4 separate regions of the Homo sapiens genome follow, and regions 1, 2 and 3 are each linked to region 4. Evidence: promoter capture Hi-C in 16 types of primary human blood cells and fetal thymus (Javierre and others, 2016). All regions are on one chromosome and are shown on one strand. The core of a region is centred on a gene start or on the middle of the fragment in contact, and the rest is flanking DNA. Distances in the headings are between cores, read along the strand shown. Region 1 overlaps LSM5 (LSM5 homolog, U6 small nuclear RNA and mRNA degradation associated). Region 2 holds the start of DPY19L1 (dpy-19 like C-mannosyltransferase 1). Region 3 has its middle 2.5 kb from the start of BBS9. Region 4 holds the start of MPLKIP (M-phase specific PLK1 interacting protein).

The links. The method cuts DNA at HindIII sites, captures the fragments that hold promoters and counts their contacts. A CHiCAGO score of 5 or more calls a contact.
Region 1: a contact is called between a fragment that was not itself captured here and the fragment with the promoter of MPLKIP in region 4, in 4 of 17 cell types (total B cells, total CD4 T cells, naive CD8 T cells and 1 more). The highest score is 13.2, in total B cells.
Region 2: a contact is called between the fragment with the promoter of DPY19L1 here and the fragment with the promoter of MPLKIP in region 4, in 2 of 17 cell types (non-activated CD4 T cells and monocytes). The highest score is 7.4, in non-activated CD4 T cells.
Region 3: a contact is called between a fragment that was not itself captured here and the fragment with the promoter of MPLKIP in region 4, in 1 of 17 cell types (total CD4 T cells). The highest score is 7.8, in total CD4 T cells.

What each region holds. Positions count from the first base shown.
Region 1 is chr7:32,483,751-32,487,742 of GRCh38, forward strand. It overlaps LSM5 (LSM5 homolog, U6 small nuclear RNA and mRNA degradation associated), which reads right to left. Exons shown (of 5, transcript NM_012322.3): 4 at 3,935-3,992; 5 at 1,588-3,543. The coding sequence ends at 3,511. Among named protein-coding and RNA genes, the nearest start is that of LSM5, 4.6 kb to the right of the region's middle. The HindIII fragment of the contact is 5,746 bases long and covers 1-3,992 here.
Region 2 is chr7:35,035,596-35,039,168 of GRCh38, forward strand. It overlaps DPY19L1 (dpy-19 like C-mannosyltransferase 1), which reads right to left and starts at 1,890. Exons shown (of 22, transcript NM_001366673.1): 1 at 1,502-1,890. The coding sequence starts at 1,799. LOC105375228 (a long non-coding RNA gene) reads left to right here and starts at 1,191. Exons shown (of 3, transcript XR_001745162.3): 1 at 1,191-1,326. RefSeq lists silencers at 1,580-1,749, 1,780-2,449 and an enhancer at 2,500-2,729. The HindIII fragment of the contact is 4,166 bases long and covers 297-3,573 here.
Region 3 is chr7:33,125,321-33,128,902 of GRCh38, forward strand. No RefSeq gene overlaps it. Among named protein-coding and RNA genes, the nearest start is that of BBS9, 2.5 kb to the right of the region's middle. The HindIII fragment of the contact is 3,349 bases long and covers 314-3,582 here.
Region 4 is chr7:40,132,772-40,136,959 of GRCh38, forward strand. It overlaps MPLKIP (M-phase specific PLK1 interacting protein), which reads right to left and starts at 1,851. Exons shown (of 2, transcript NM_138701.4): 1 at 1,458-1,851; 2 at 1-488. The coding sequence starts at 1,796. The coding sequence ends at 288. It overlaps SUGCT (succinyl-CoA:glutarate-CoA transferase), which reads left to right and starts at 2,234. Exons shown (of 14, transcript NM_001193313.2): 1 at 2,234-2,349. The coding sequence starts at 2,250. RefSeq lists silencers at 1,577-1,646, 2,107-2,306 and an enhancer at 1,857-1,926. The HindIII fragment of the contact is 4,548 bases long and covers 263-4,188 here.

The DNA.
Region 1 (3,992 bases), core at 133-2,632, 7.6 Mb before region 4:
TTAAATGCCCAAAACAACCTTTCCCAAATCCTTATTCTGTTCAGTCTTAACCAGAAGGGGGTTTGATGCTTAGGTGGTTAAAGTCCTTTCAGCAGCCACAACCCAAGCTGTTACTCATGGGAAAGTAATTTCTTTAGGGCCTCAGAAGTTACACTAGATATGCCTCAGATACATCACTTTTTAAAAATTGAGATGTAATTCATGTAACATGAAATCCACTCTTTTAAGGTTATAATTCAGTGCTTTTTAGTATATTCACAAGGTTGTGCAACCATCTAATCCCAGAACTTTTTCATCACCCCAAAAAACAAACCCATACCCATTAGCAGTCACTAGTATAGTTGTCTATTTCTGTGAATTTGCCTGTTCTGGATCATATAAATCAAATATGTGGTCTTTTGTGTCTGGCTTCTTTCACTTAGCATAATGTTACAGTTCATCCACACTGTAGCATACACAAGTACTTCATTCATTTTAACAGATAATATTCTATTGTATGAATATATCGCATTTCAGTTATCCATCCATCCATCGATGGACATTTGGGTTGCTTCCACTTTGAGACATTAGGAATAATGCTGCCGTGAATGTTCATACAAGTTTTTGTGCAGACATGTTTTTAGTTCTCTTGGGTATGAACTGAGGAGAGGAGTTGCAGGGTCGTATGGTAATTGTTTAACTTTTTGAGGAATCATCAAATTATTTTCCACAGTGCATGCATCATTTTACATTCGCACCAGCAAGGTACTAGGGCTCCAATTTCTTCATATCCCAGCCAATACTTGTTACATTAATTTTTGTACAATTCTTGTTACAATAATTTTTTATAATTATAGCCATTCTATAGCACCCATGAAATGGCGTTTCATTGTAGGTTTTGAGACGGGGTCTCACTGTCACCCAGGCTGGAGTACAGTGGTGCAATCATAGCTTACTGAAATCTCAAACTCCTGGGCTCAAGCAATTCTCCTGCCTCAGCCTCCCAACTACGTAGGACTACAGGTGCATGCACACTACCACACCTCACTAATTTTTTAAAATTTTTGGTAGAGATGGGGTCTCACTATATTACCCAGGCTGGTCTCCAACTCCTGGCCTCAATCTATCCTTCCACCTCGACCACCTACAATGTAGCACTGGGATTACAGACATGAGCCACTGCACCTGGCCTAACTCCTATGATGAAAAAAGGAAGAGCTTGGGTATGACTATTAGCTCCCCTGGGATAGCAAATAATAAAGGGGTGGAAAGAAGCAGGTGTTACATCACTTACTCCCCTCCAAAGGGAAAGAAACAACAGTGGAGGGAAAGCATTGCCCCCAAGAGTTAGAAGCAAAGTGTGAGGCAACCAGCTCATACTGGCTCCTGAGAATCAACTGTCAAATCCTTGAGAATTTTGCAAACCAGTTGTTAAAGCCTTGGTAGCTTGAAATTAGCCAAGGCAGTAGTACTGACAACATGTAAATCAGAGAAAACTACAAATCAGTGCTTTGTGTTTTGGAAAATAAGGTTGGATCCTTTTTCCATGTGGTAATACCAAAATTCCAGATAGATTCCAGATTTAAATCAAACGCAGAAAACATAAAGTGCCCAAAGAAAAGTATAATCAAAGCAAAGGTTTTCCAATCCACGTGGACCAAATACAAAAACCATAATGGACTAGGTCAACATGCAACTACATTAAAATACATCATTTATGTCAAAAATAGCACTAAGTGGCAAACTACAAACTAGGGAAATTATTAGCAAAATACATGACTAACAGAAACCCATCAAGAATTCTTACAAATTAGTAAGAAAAAGACAAACATCTCAATGGCAAAAGCCTCAACAGATAAGTCATTTACAAAATACAAATGAGATCAAAATTAATCAAGAAAATTTTAGGCCAGGCCTGGTGGCTCATGCCTTTAATACCGGCACTTTGGGAGGCTGAGGCAGGTGGATCACTAGAGGTCAGGAGTTCAAGACCAGCCTGGCCAACAAGGTAAAACCCCATCTCTCTAAAAATATAAAAATTAGATGGGAGTGGTGGCGCCCACCTGTAATCCCAGCTACTCAGGAGGGTGAGGCAGGACAATCACTTGAACCTGGGAGGCGGAGGTCGCGTTGATATCGCGACAAGGCACACCAGCCTGACTGGAGGTTGCAGGGAGCCAAGATCATGCCACTGCATTCCAGTGAGACTCTCCAAAAAAAAAAAAAAAAAAAAAAAAAGGAAAAGAAAACTTTAGACATGCCCGGTTTTCTTGTAAAAATGGCAAAGAGGAGAGAAGGTAGAACACAGCTAATGCTGGGAAGGATATAAATGGTACTATGAAAGACTCCTGGCAAAAATATACATTGGCACAAACTTTTTCTTGGCAACACAATATATACCCTTTGATCTTACACATTTTTGAGTTTATTCTAGAAAAATACAAATGTATAAAGATCTAGTTAGACTACTGTGGCCAGTAAGAATAGGCTAAATAATTTATAGTAAATCCATTTAATACTATGTACATATTAATGTTGAAATATTTGACACAGAAAGATATTCACCATTTAAATTCAAAAAATGACTTAAGTGGAGGGTAAAAACAGTATAATCAGGATGAGCAAGTAAAATAAAACGTGTACTGAGAGTGGACTGAGAAAGTCTACGAAGACATACAGCAAAGCATGATCAACCTTCTCCTTTTTGCTTACCTACAATTCTACGATGTGCATATATTACCTGTTTGTTTTTAATAGGAGTTCTTTGACTTAATTTATACAGTTCAATGATCTTATTATCAGTTCCTTGATTTGACCTGAGTCCTGGAGTTCTTAGCTGCTTTTAGTATCCTTTATCTTAAAGCTCTGTCTCCACTCATTTCCTGGCAATTCAGTAATAACTACATTAAGGTAATAACCTTCTGAATCAATTTTATAAGCAAATAGATAAAATTTCTATCTTTAGGGTAATTCCAATAGATAATTCCTGCATTTCTACAATGTGCATATATTACCTGTACATTGTTTGTTTTCAATAGGAGTTCATGGAATTTGAAATCAGAAGAAAAATCCTCATTACAAAACAACAGCATTTTAATTGAATTTTCTAAGTGATCATTTCCGGTTGTTTAAATGCACCTGTTCAAATCAAAGTTCATCATTTTGTTTGGAACAACTTTTGTTTGAGAATCAAATGGTCACGTAAATGACAAAACAAATAAGCATATAATGACAGAAAAGTAAGTGGCAAAATAACTACAAACTTTGTTCCACTGGCTACTGCAGTAGAATAAACAAAATGACAGTTAACCAAAAACACCTTTATTTTCATCTGCAAAGAAGAAGCTCTTTTCTTCTTTTTCCAGGATAATCATGATTAACTTACAAAAATGGGTACACATCTTCAAAGCACTTCCCTTTAACGGGAAACTTAGCTTTATGGGATTTAAACATTAGAAAGTGGGAAAAAAAATTCCATTTTCTTGTCATTATAAGCCAAAACAAAATCTAGTGTAAGTCAAGGAAACTCATTCACACTTCAGGTCCTTCTCCTCCAGGAACCAGCTGCATAAAGAGGAAAAAGAGTTTATTAATAACACTACCACCATGTCATCTAAAAACCCCTTGCTCTTCATTAAGCCACCTTTGCCTGTCCCCTGCACTCCACGTTCCCATTTTCTCCAGATTGTCAGTATCTATTTACAATTCCCAACGTCATCAATTAATACTTACTATCTCAACAGCGATTAAAAGTTCCAAGCAAACTAACCTTTAGACCCAATGCCTCTTCAATAGCTGAGCTTTAGGACCCTGACCACAGAGAACCCCTTTCCCATCTTATGCACCACTGGGCCATGATCATTTAGTCAAGCAAGCAACATTAAGGTTAGTTCTGTAATCACTGCTCCCCAAAAATGGGCTCCCATCAAAATAAAACAGTTTCAATGTGTCTTACCATTGTTATATTATTTCCATTTAGCAAAATCTGATCTAATTTAGTAATCCTTCTTCCT
Region 2 (3,573 bases), core at 640-3,139, 5.1 Mb before region 4:
CACTTTCTTTTATTACAACAACTACAATGTGTCAAGTGCTCTAAACACAAAGTATCTTCCCATGTATCACCCACACCTTTTAGTTATGATCCTTAACAGATCCTGTGGATCCCTGTGGAGTAAATTCGCCATGTGATAACCCCCCACTAGCAGAGAACGAAAGACTCACAAAGGAACCTGAAACTTAAACCAAACTGAACCGCTGTGTACTAGATCTGAAGGCTCTGCCTCATCCACTGTATCGTGCTGCCTCCCCAAGGTGAGCTTTTCTAACCTGCATACTAGCCAGCTTTTCAAGCTTGCTACTGAGATAAAAAAAAAGGGGGCGGGGGGAAATGTGCTGGAAACAGACAAACAAACAAACAAAGAAAAACAAACTTGGTTTTTCTAGGCTTGAATCGGCAATGGGGGGAAAAAAAGTACCCTAGGAACAACCTTCTTGAGCCCATTAAAACATACAGAGATGACTGGCTTTTTATGACTGAGTGGCTTTTATTTGTGGCTGTGATCTCAGGGGAAGCCAATTTGCTGTGTCCTATTCCTTGACTTATACTGGACCCCAACTCCTGGCTAAGGGAACTTTGAGTCACCAAGGGAATCTGAAAATATACTAAGGGATAAATCAACAGTAATTAAATAGTTCAGTAGCGAAAAGCCCACTGAGGCATATAGAAAAAAGCAATGTAACAGCATTTCACTAGTTGACTTAGAAAAATTAGGCCTGTTATCCAAACTGCTACAACTTGCCTTATCAAAATTCAACCAGGAAACAGAGGAAACCTGAAGTCAGTCCGAAACATACGAATGCGTCAACTTTGTTTTTTTTTTTCAGCACATCATTACACATCATCCATTTGGTAAATGGCAGAGGGAGGGGAGGAGAGCCCTCCTCACCAAAGGTTCCAAGGGCAGCAGGGAGGATTAAGGCTCGGGCGCCCCAAACACAACACAACCTAGAAAGTGACGTGTCGAGGGGAATCACAAATAAAGTGCCACCAGCGGCGTTTGCGGCCAGGAAGAAAAAAGTACGCTAAAATTTAATTATAAGTTTAAGCAACTCTCTACGACATGGAACGTGCGTTTGCTTTGAGCTCCACGGAATCGTTTCCAAGCCAAAGCAAACCATCCTGGCGGTCAGAGGCCGAGATAACGGGAAGGCGGCCAGTCGTACCAATCAGCAGCGCTCAAGTCTCGTTAGCGCAGACCTGCTGCCCGCGGCCAGGCCGGGCAGCTGTTGATCCCCGGGCCATTCTTTTAAAGCCCAGGCAGAGCGCGGGTGGGAAGCGTGCGAGGAGAGCTGAGCCAGGGAGTTGCGGGGAGGAGAAGGTAAGAATGTCCCAGAGAAAAAGTCGGAGAGGGCTGCAAACTGGCTGGTCCGGCTGGCGGGGCTCGGCGCGGCGGAAGCGGGAGGAGAGGGGAAGGAAGGGGAGGGGAGGGGAGGGGAGGGGGCCAGCGCCTCAAAGTTCCGCGTCCCGGCGGCGCCGGCGCTAGGGCTGCTCACCTAACAGGAGCGTGGTCCAGGTCCGGCCGCGCCCCGCGCGCCGCAGGCCCAGCGCCCAGCGCAGCCGGGCGGCCAGGCGCCCCCCAAGGCCGCCCCCGGCGGGCGGCGCGCCGGGCTCGGCGCGGGGCCCCTTCCTGCCCGCGGCGCCCTTGCGCCCCGGGGACAGGGGCGCGCGCTCGGGCCCCGGCTCCCCGGCGCCGACGTCCGACGCCCCCCTCAGCGGCGACTGTGAGGCGCGGGGTGGCTGGGGCGGCTTGGGAGCCGCCTCCCGGTGCTTGTTCCGCGCCTGCAGGACCATCTTGGCATAGTCGCGCCCGCTCGCTGCGCGCGCCCGGACGGCGGCCAGAGAACGGCGGGCTGGCTGGGCGGCTGGGCGCAGCTCACTCTCCAGCGGGCGGGCGGGCGGAGGGTGGAGGGCGGGCTCGTCCCTCCCCGCGGGCCGGGAGGCGGGGAGATCGTGGAGGCCGGGCGGCTGCTGCCTGGCTGGCAGTACCGCCGGGAGGCGGCGCCGGACTTGCTAGCCCGCCGCCGTTGCCGCCGCTCCGGTTGTCACGGCGACCGCGGAACGCCGGGGGGCGGGGGCGGGGACACCCTGCGAGCGGCCGCGGCCCCGCCCCCGCCGCCCCTCTGCGCCGGACGCGCGCTCCAGGCCGGCCAGCGCGCACGCGCGGACTTCCGGCGCAGGCGGGGCCCGACCCCTCTGGCGCCCGGCTACCCACACCTCTTCGGCGCCCGCGCGGGGCTCGGCCGGTGCGAGGACGCGGGGGCGGACGGCCTTCCGGAGGCGGCCGCCCTTCCATTGTGGGAGTGATGGGGCCGAAGGAAGAGCCCTCTCGGGATCGGGGCGCTGATTCAAGTTTCGGAGCCTGTTAAGGCTGCGCTTGGAGCCCGCGCAGGCGAGACGCGGCGGGGCAGGGAGAAGGCGCCCGGAGCGGCCACTTAGGGGCGCTGTGCGTGCGCCCTGGGCGCCTGGTCGGCCCCACCGATGTGAAGCGCGCGGGTGGCAATCAAGTCACCGTCTCCGTTTACTCCCCGCAGTGTGGTCGCGCAACTTGGAGCGCAGCCCCTCACTCACCGACAAGAAGAACGGGTGCGACCCGATTTAAGATAGTAACAGAGTATTAAAATAGCAGCCTGGAATCTCATGGGGAGCTGATAAGGGACGAGGCACAAGTGTAAACTGAAGACCAGGGTAGGAGCCAGGCTGAAGGTGATAGGATGGATTGGCTGGAGCAGGAAAGATCATCAATAAGTACATTCAGTTTGTTACACTTGCTGTAACCTTGTTGCTTAATAGGAAGCAGGAAAACTTGGCGTTGATAAGATAGGAGATTTTAGTCGAAAATATGTTTTCTTTTACATAGCAGAATGCACGAGTAAATTAAACCCGGGAAAATTTAGAAACCCAGGTAGATCCCAATTCTCCCTCCACCCCTGCATTCTTTGCACACAGTCTTACAACAGCATGGATTACAACTGGGAGGTTCCTTTCCTGGCCGTGCCCAGTGGCTTGTTCCAAAAAGTTGTCTTTAAGTCCCAATGTTGTAAATCAAGGCCCATCGTTCTGCTTATCTCTATTGTAATTCCAGGGACTTCACGTGGCTTTCTCGCTCTTTGTTTCTTTGCCCAGTGATTTCTTTACTAATACCAGCATTCGTTCATTGTTAGCCTTTTTAAGAGACAGTGGATTATTTTGTAAAGGGAGGGTGTTTGCCATGCTAATTAATACTCCCTCATACCCTGTCTAGTTTATGAATTTGGATTTTCCAATGTCTTTATTGGAGCAAAGAACAACTATTTTTATACACTGGTTTAAAAAATAATGGTTGAAAGTAGGATGCAGAAGGCTTGGATTCTGAAACATTGTGTCAGCTGAACTCAATGCTACCTCTGGGATTAATGTTGAATGTATTCAGTTAAAAGAAAGCTAATTCAATGCCTATTAAAGATAATACGAATAACTGGCCGGGCACCGTGGCTCACGCCTGTAATCCCAACACTCTGGGAGGCCGAGGCGGGCAGATCACGAGGCCAAGAGTTCAAGACCAGCCTGGCCAAGATGGTGAACCTCT
Region 3 (3,582 bases), core at 738-3,237, 7.0 Mb before region 4:
GAATAGTAAATTTTAGTCCTATAAAATAATTGGCTTTTTTAAAAAATGAAAAATGGTAGGACAAAGACTTGGGGGTTAAAAAAATGAGAAAATGTCTAAGCAAGTCAAAGAGCATTTATGAATAATAGGCCTGTGAGAAAACTTTTATGAATGATCAGGTTGGCCAGAATTAAAAATAAATAGTTTATAAGTGGTTTTCTAAAATTTAAACATTAATGTTGGAGGTGCACTGATACAGGACCAGAGCCTGGTCCTCCATTTTTAAAACAACATTTTCTTGAAGTATTGATCTGCTCCTGATAAAATTGTAAGAAGCTTTCATTTTGAATTCTAAAATCTATTTCTTTAACTGCTATCCCCTAAACTGCAGGCAGTTTCTATTTCTGCCACCTTTTTTCACTGAGATTCATTTAATTTCCCTAGTTTCACATTAAAAATGCTGTCTTCTTCATTTAAAATAATAATTTCTTTGCTTTTTTTTTTGAGATAGGGTTTCACTCTGTCATGCAGGCTGGAGTGTAGTTGCACGATCATGGCTCACTGCAGTCTTGACCTACTGGGCTCAAGCAGTCCTCCAACTTCAGCCCCCTTAGTAGCTGAGATTAAAGGCACACGTAACCACGCCCGGCTAATTTTTGTATTTTTTGTAGAGACAGGATTTTGTCATGTTGCCCAGGCTGGTCTCGAACTCCTGGGCTCAAACGATCTGCCCACCTCGGCCTCCCAAAGTGCTTGGATTATGGACATTGCACCCGTCTGGTAATATCATTTCTTGAGGTAGAGTTTTGCTTTTGAAATTTCTCAGATTTCGTATCTCAGTGGTTCAAATTTGCCATGTCTTGCTATTTGATTTCCAGGTCATATATCATTGCATTCAGGTTTTCTCCTCTTTAGAAAGCCTGGGATGGTAACTCTCTCCTTCAATTTTTTCATCAGTTGCTATACAATTTTTTTTTTTTGGTTCTAATTGCTGGTATGGCCTGACACTAAAGGTTTATCCTGAAGGCCTAGAAATCAATGCTCTTTTTCAATATAACTTGATTCTGTACTCTTGGCTTTTCTTGATACATGTGAATTGTTATAATCATGACCTGGGACACATCTTCCTGTATCTGATTAAATTCAAGTACCCTTTTCATCAGATTCGACCTCCAGGTTATCTAAATGAGCTCCCCAAAAGGAGAAACAATCACATTGCAGAAAGTTTTTCTTTACTTTTTTGGTACCTGGCCTAAGGAAGATTATACATTTTATCAACATAATTTCCTGTGTTGCTTTTATTAGATTTGATTTTTTTTTAACCTGAAGTTTAAAATGGTTAAGATAGTTTTAATGTAATTATTTGTATGGCTTTTTAAGCCTTTTGATTATCACTCTGGTTATATAAATGACTTATTTCACAAGTAACTTGTGATTCTGTATTGATACAGTGTTTTGAGCCCTTTAAAAACTTCCTCAAAATCAAATTCCAATTTAAGTTTTTTAAATGTAGAATTAACTTTGGAATTTTCCAGTTGGACTCCTGGAAAGCATTAAAACATATCTTTCTCATCTTTTAGAGGTATTAAATGATTTGGGTTATTTGGTAAATTTTATAAGAAATATTGTCAAACGATAACTGATACTAGATTTTTCTTTTATTTGCATTTATGGGAATATTGTTTATATGAATGTTTGAAAAATTATATAAGTCCATACAAGTATGCTGGGAATGATGGCTCATGCCTATAATCCCAACACTTTGGGAGGCTGAGGTCAGAGGATTACTTATAGCCAGGAATTTGTGTCCAGCTTGGGCAACAAAACAAGACCCTGTCTCTATTAAAACAAAACAAAACAAAACAAAAACAAAAAAAACCAAAAAAAAACCAAGCATGGTGGTACAAACGTGTAGTCCCAGCTACTTGAGAGGCTGAGGCAGAAGGATTGCTTGAGTCCAGGAGTTTGAGATTGCAGTCAGCTATGAATGTGCCACTGCACTCTAGCCTGGGCAATAGAGCAAGACCCCATCTTTAAAAAAAATTCGTACAAATGTATTATATTACCAGTCATAATTCTGGTTATCTTAAAATACTGTATATAATAGCAATAAATAAATGTTCTTCTCAGTTGTTAACTTCATCAGATTTTTAACCATGGCTATTTTAAGTTTTTGTCATCCATATTATTGTTTTGAATTCTTTTTTAAAAAACAGACTCCTGGAAAATATTCTAACAAGTACTCTTTTATTTTTATTTATTTATTTTTGAGACAATCTTGCTCTGATGCCCAGGCTGGGGTGCAGTGGCACGATCCTGGTTCATTGCAACCTCTGCCTCCCTGGTTCCAGTGATTCTCATGCCTCAGCCTCCTGAGTAGCTGGGATTACAGGCATGCGCTACCACGCTGGGTTAATTTTTTGTATTTTTAGTAGAGATGGGGTTTCACTATATTGGCCAGGCTTTTCTCCAACTCCTGGCCTCAAATGATCCTCCCGCCTTGGCCTCCCAAATTGCTGGGATTACCGGCATGAACCATTGTGCCTGGCCCTAAAATATACTCTTAGATTTGGGTTTCTAACAACTTGAAGATCAATGGACAATATAACAATTTCCAGAACTGTAATAAAAAAGTGGGTTCATGAAACTATTAATCAAGATCAGGCAGAACAAGAATTAATTACGTGAGTTTAACTAATGAAGACAATGTTTTTATGATATTATTTCAAATGTTGTTGGTTCTTTACTCAAATAGTTTTTTCCAGATTTAAGAAAATCTTGTCTTTTAAGCTATTTATAATTTACAGCAATTTGATAGAGTATACTTGTGTAAAAAAAGATAAAAACTTTTTTTCTCTTTACTTGATTCCTCCATAATTAGAAAACCATTTGTGAGTCTTCTTATGGTAATATGGTCATTTCAATAAGTCTAATAAAAATCTGCTCTCTCTGTATAGCAGAATACAATTGGAAACTGGTTATATTACCAAGGCTTTGACTGAAAGGTCATTTTTAAAAATATTGAGGCCGGACGCGGTGGCTCACGCCAGCAATCCCAGCACTTTGGGGGACTGAGGTGGGTGGATCGTTTGAACCCAGGAGTTCGAGAGCAACCTGGACATGGCGAAACTCCATCTCTACAAAAAATACAAAAATTAGCCAGGTGTGGTGGTCTGTGCCTGTAGTCCCAGCTTACTAGGAAGGCTAAGGTGGGAGAATCGTTTGAGCCCGGGAGGCTGAGGCTTCAGTGCTTCAGTGAGCAGTGATCCTGTCACTGCACTCCAGTCTAGGCGACCCTGTCAGGGAGACCCAGTCTCAGTTAAAAAAAAAAAAAAAACCCAAAACCCAAAAAACTAAAACTAGAATGGTATTTTCTACTGGGAATGTGGATTTGTGGATTGATGGTGAAATACTGGAAATTTAAAGCCTACACTAGAATCCATTGAAAAAAGCAAACAAGAAAAACTTCAAGGTTGGCTACATTGAATTTGAATGTAAAGATTAAAAAAAAATAAGTAAAAAACAAAAGAAGACATAGATCCAATCCCATATACCAGGAAATGCACTCTAAGGTATATACGGAAAATATATTTAACACATGTG
Region 4 (4,188 bases), core at 601-3,100:
TTGAAAAAACATTAAAAGACAAATGTCCATTATGTAACCAGGAATGTTAAATATATGGAAACGGTAAATCTCTAAAATGTGGTAGGTACTTCCAGAGCTAAATGTTGCAAGTTATCCTACTTTTTTCTCTAATATCAACAATACCTGATACGATGAAAAATAACAAAAAGACCTTACTAATTATCCAATCAAAGTCATCATCTTTGGGTAAATTTATATCAACACAACTTAAAGTTTTGTCCAAGATGTTCCTGACACATGAAGCTTCCAGTTGAATTTCAGAAATGTTAACAAAAGTATCTTCCTTTTTTGCCTGTGAATGTTTGAGTATTGCTGTATTGTTGGCTTATATCCACTACAGATACTGGTTCTAGGCCAGCCCAAGGATCTTCAAGCATTGAAGGCTTGAAATAATTTTCCAACTCATTAGACATTCTTTTTTCTCTAACACGCCCTGATCCAAATGGTGTAGATGTCCTTGGAGAACCCTTTAGAAAAAAAATCAGTTAAAAAAACACTTAGTAAAGATAATTGGTACTTCTTCCTTTAGCTAAAGGTTAGCGGGAATCACATTGCTGCTTAAAAGTTGTGACTTGAACCTAAATAATGTTCAATTACAAAGTCCATGCTTCCTTTAATCAAGTGTTCCTATTTTTTAAAAAAAGTACTTAAAGCAATTCGTTATTCTCATTTATTTATAATTCCATGACCACTGTCATCTCAAATACTTTTGTGTCTAATGTAGTAACTTTGCAGTAATTAAATACAAGCAGTGATGAAATCAAGTAATTATATTCAATTTTCCCTCGAAATTTTCACTTTTTTCAGGAGAAAACAATACTATAGTTTTAAAGTTTCTAGAACCTTTCTAGCTCATGAACATTTTCTTTACTCCTTAGCTCCAGGCTCAAAAGGGGTAGGGGGTTGGTGTAGAATACAGCAAGTTGGAAAACCACGTAGTTGCAAGTTGTAAACCACAGAAATCCCAGACATGCTAGAGATACTCTCTCTGTCTTTTGTATTTACTCTCACTAAAGGAATGGAAAACTTCCACTACCACCGATTTTCTTTTCAGGGAAGTTGGAGCAGAAGCCAGTGTAGCTCGAAAGAAAGATAAAAAAAAAAAAAAAAAAAAGAAAAAGAACTATTTCTTGAAACAAACTGGCAAGGCCTTTGGCAAACAGGAGGAAATGGAGAATTAGGAAAATCTGTGTACGGGTGGCAGTGTATTGGTTAAAAGCACGAGGGCTCGAAAACAGAACGTACGGCTCTGCCACTCTTTCGGATAATCTTCCGGAAGTCACTCAACTTCTCTAAGCCTCAGTTCGCTCATCTGCAAAATTGGGCTAACAATAGTACCTCAGAGAGGATTAGACAAAATAATCCACGTAAAGGGAATATTAGTACCGTGCCTGCCATAAAGTAAGAGCTCGGCAAACGCTGGCTATTATTATTACCTGGGGGTGGGTCTGCTGCTGCCCTGGGGAGTAGCCGAATTGCTGCTGGGACCCCGCGGGGGACCTGGAGTAGGAGCCAGGGTAGCCGCCAGGGGACGGAGACCCGAACCGGCCCCCCGGGAAGCTGCCGCCGTGTCGCGGAGAGTGACTGCTCCCGTACGGCCTAGACCGGGGCCCGTACGGCGGCGTGTGGTGCGGACTCCCGTACCCGTCTCGAGGGGAGGGCGGCCGTGGTCCGCCCCCGCCCGGGGTTCCCCGGAAGCTGCTTCCGCTACCCCAACCTCCTCCACCCGGACCAGGGTAAGGAGGAGTTGGGGGCCGAAAATTCTGTCGCTGCATATCAGGAGCCAAAGCCGAAAACCTCGCAGCCGCGTTCTCCCACCGGAACTGTATCAACCGGCCCTCCGCAGAGAACTGCTAGTCCTTTACCAAAACAGTCCTCCGACCGCAGCCACCCTACGGCACATCAGTTCCGGCGTCACAAAGGTTCCGCCAGGGGCGGCGGGATTACCTAAATCACTGACTTGGCGAGAGACTCAGTGGATTTAAGTGAAAAGAGGAAGAAAAGGAGACAGGAAAGGACGGACACCCAAGCCCAGCAACAACCTTTCCAGTCTGAGTGCCCTTGGTCTGACCGACAGACTAGAAGCTGGCCCAGCAGGCGACTAGTGCTCAGCCCCGCCCGGCGGGGGCGGGGTCTGCGGCGTCCGTGGGCGCCCCCCAGTGGCGGCGGGTGGCGCCGCACGGAGTTCGCCGCTTGCACCGGGACCGATGCCATCTGAGACGCACGCGATGCTGGCGACGCTGGCGAGGGTGGCAGCTCTGCGCAGAACCTGCCTCTTCTCCGGCCGGGGCGGCGGGAGGGGGCTGTGGACTGGCCGCCCGCAGTCAGGTACCCTCCGAGATTCGGTCTGGGTGGCTAAAGGGATCCCTGCCCCAGCTTGCCTCCTCGGGCGCCCTGAGGAGAGCAATTAGGGTCTGAAGTCTCTGCTGACCCCTTAGCGGTGGCTTTGCTCGCCTCCCTGCAACCCCGTTCCGTGGGCCTGCGGCCGGCCTGCCCCGCTCTGGCCGCCCAGGGTCGCCTCTGTCCCGTGCGTTGTTGTGACCGAGGGCTCCGTGCGCCGTGGGGTCCCGCTCCTGCGCGTCCCGCGGCTCGCGTTTGGGGCCTCTTTACTCCTGTCCTTTCGTCCGCCAAGTTTAAGTAACTTCGAAAATGCACACCAAGCCACATTTCAGAAAGGACTTTAGCCCGCTGCTTTGAATAACTTGACACTTCATGTACAATAAAAGATGCCCTTGTACAGTTACCTGTTGCAGAATTTTATTTAGAGGATGAAATTTAGCTTTACTACAGTGTTATAGAACTTTCTTTACTCCCTCTGAATTTGGGAATGGTAATCCACTATGAATCTTTTTTTTCCTTTTTTCTTTTTTTCTCTTTTTTTTGAGACGGAGTCTCGCTGTCTCGCCCAGGCTGGACTGCAGTGGCGCGATCTCGGCTCACTGCAACCTCCTCCTCCCGTGTTCAGGAGATTTTCCTGCTTCAGCCTTCCGAGTAGCTGGGATTATAGGCATGCGCCACCACGCCCAACTAATTTTTGTATTTTTAGTAGAGACGGGGTTTCGCCATATTGGCCAGGCTGGTCTCGAATTCCTGACCTCAAGTTATCCTCCCGCCTCGGCCTCCCAAAGTGTTGAGATTACAGACGTAATCTCTATGATTATGCGCGCGGCCCACTATGAATCTTGAAATTAGTTGCAGGATGCAGGATTTTTTTTTTTTTTTTTGAGACAGTCTCGCTCTGTCGCCCAGGCTGGAGTGCAGTGGCGCGATCTTGGTTCACCACAACCTCTGCCTCGCGGGTTCAAGCGATTCTCTTGCCTCAGCTTTCTAGAGTAGCCGAGATTACAGGCATGTGCCACATGCCCGGCTAATTTTTTTGTATTTTTAGTAAAGACGGGTTTCACCATGTTGGCCAGGCTGGTCTCAAATTCCTGGGCTCAAGTGATCCGCCTGCCTCTGCCTCCCGAAGTGCTGGGATTTCATGCGTGAGCCACCGCGCCTGGCGTAGGATACAGAATCTTAAAAGAGCTTTAGGACTCATTAAATCATAGCCTAACGGGTAGCCTGGACCTGTGATTTCCATTCACCCTCTTGTAGCTGCTACTCCTCGCTGTCTCTTTGACATGTTCTGTGACATCCCAAGCTGACGAGTGTGGTATCTTCTCAGCTTCTATCCTCCTTGATGAATGGAGACACACACAGACAGTTTTTTTGTTTGTTTATTCTGTGGAAATTCAATTCACTACATTTCGTTTCTTCTGTAGATACAAGTGATAGACTTAATCAAGGTAGCACGTTGCCATTAAGGCTTAGTGATACAATTAAGGTCGGAGGACTCCAGCCTATCCACTTTATTAAATACAGTAGTTCTGTCCTGGCCAAAAATTCACCTTTCTGGACATTGTCTTTAGTGTTTAACTTAATGCTTGGGAATTGCTCATTTGAATATTTATTGAATAAAATGACCTAGGTGGGACGATTGCTTGAGCCCAGGAGTTGAAGACCAGCCTGGGCAACATCGTGAAGCCCCATTTCTACCAAAAATACAAAAAAAATTAGCCGGGCTTGGTGGCGTGCGCCTGTAGTCCCAGTTGCTTGGGAGGCTGAGGTGGGATGGCTTGAGTCCTAGGAGGTTGAAGCTGCAGTGATCCGCTATTGTGCCACTGC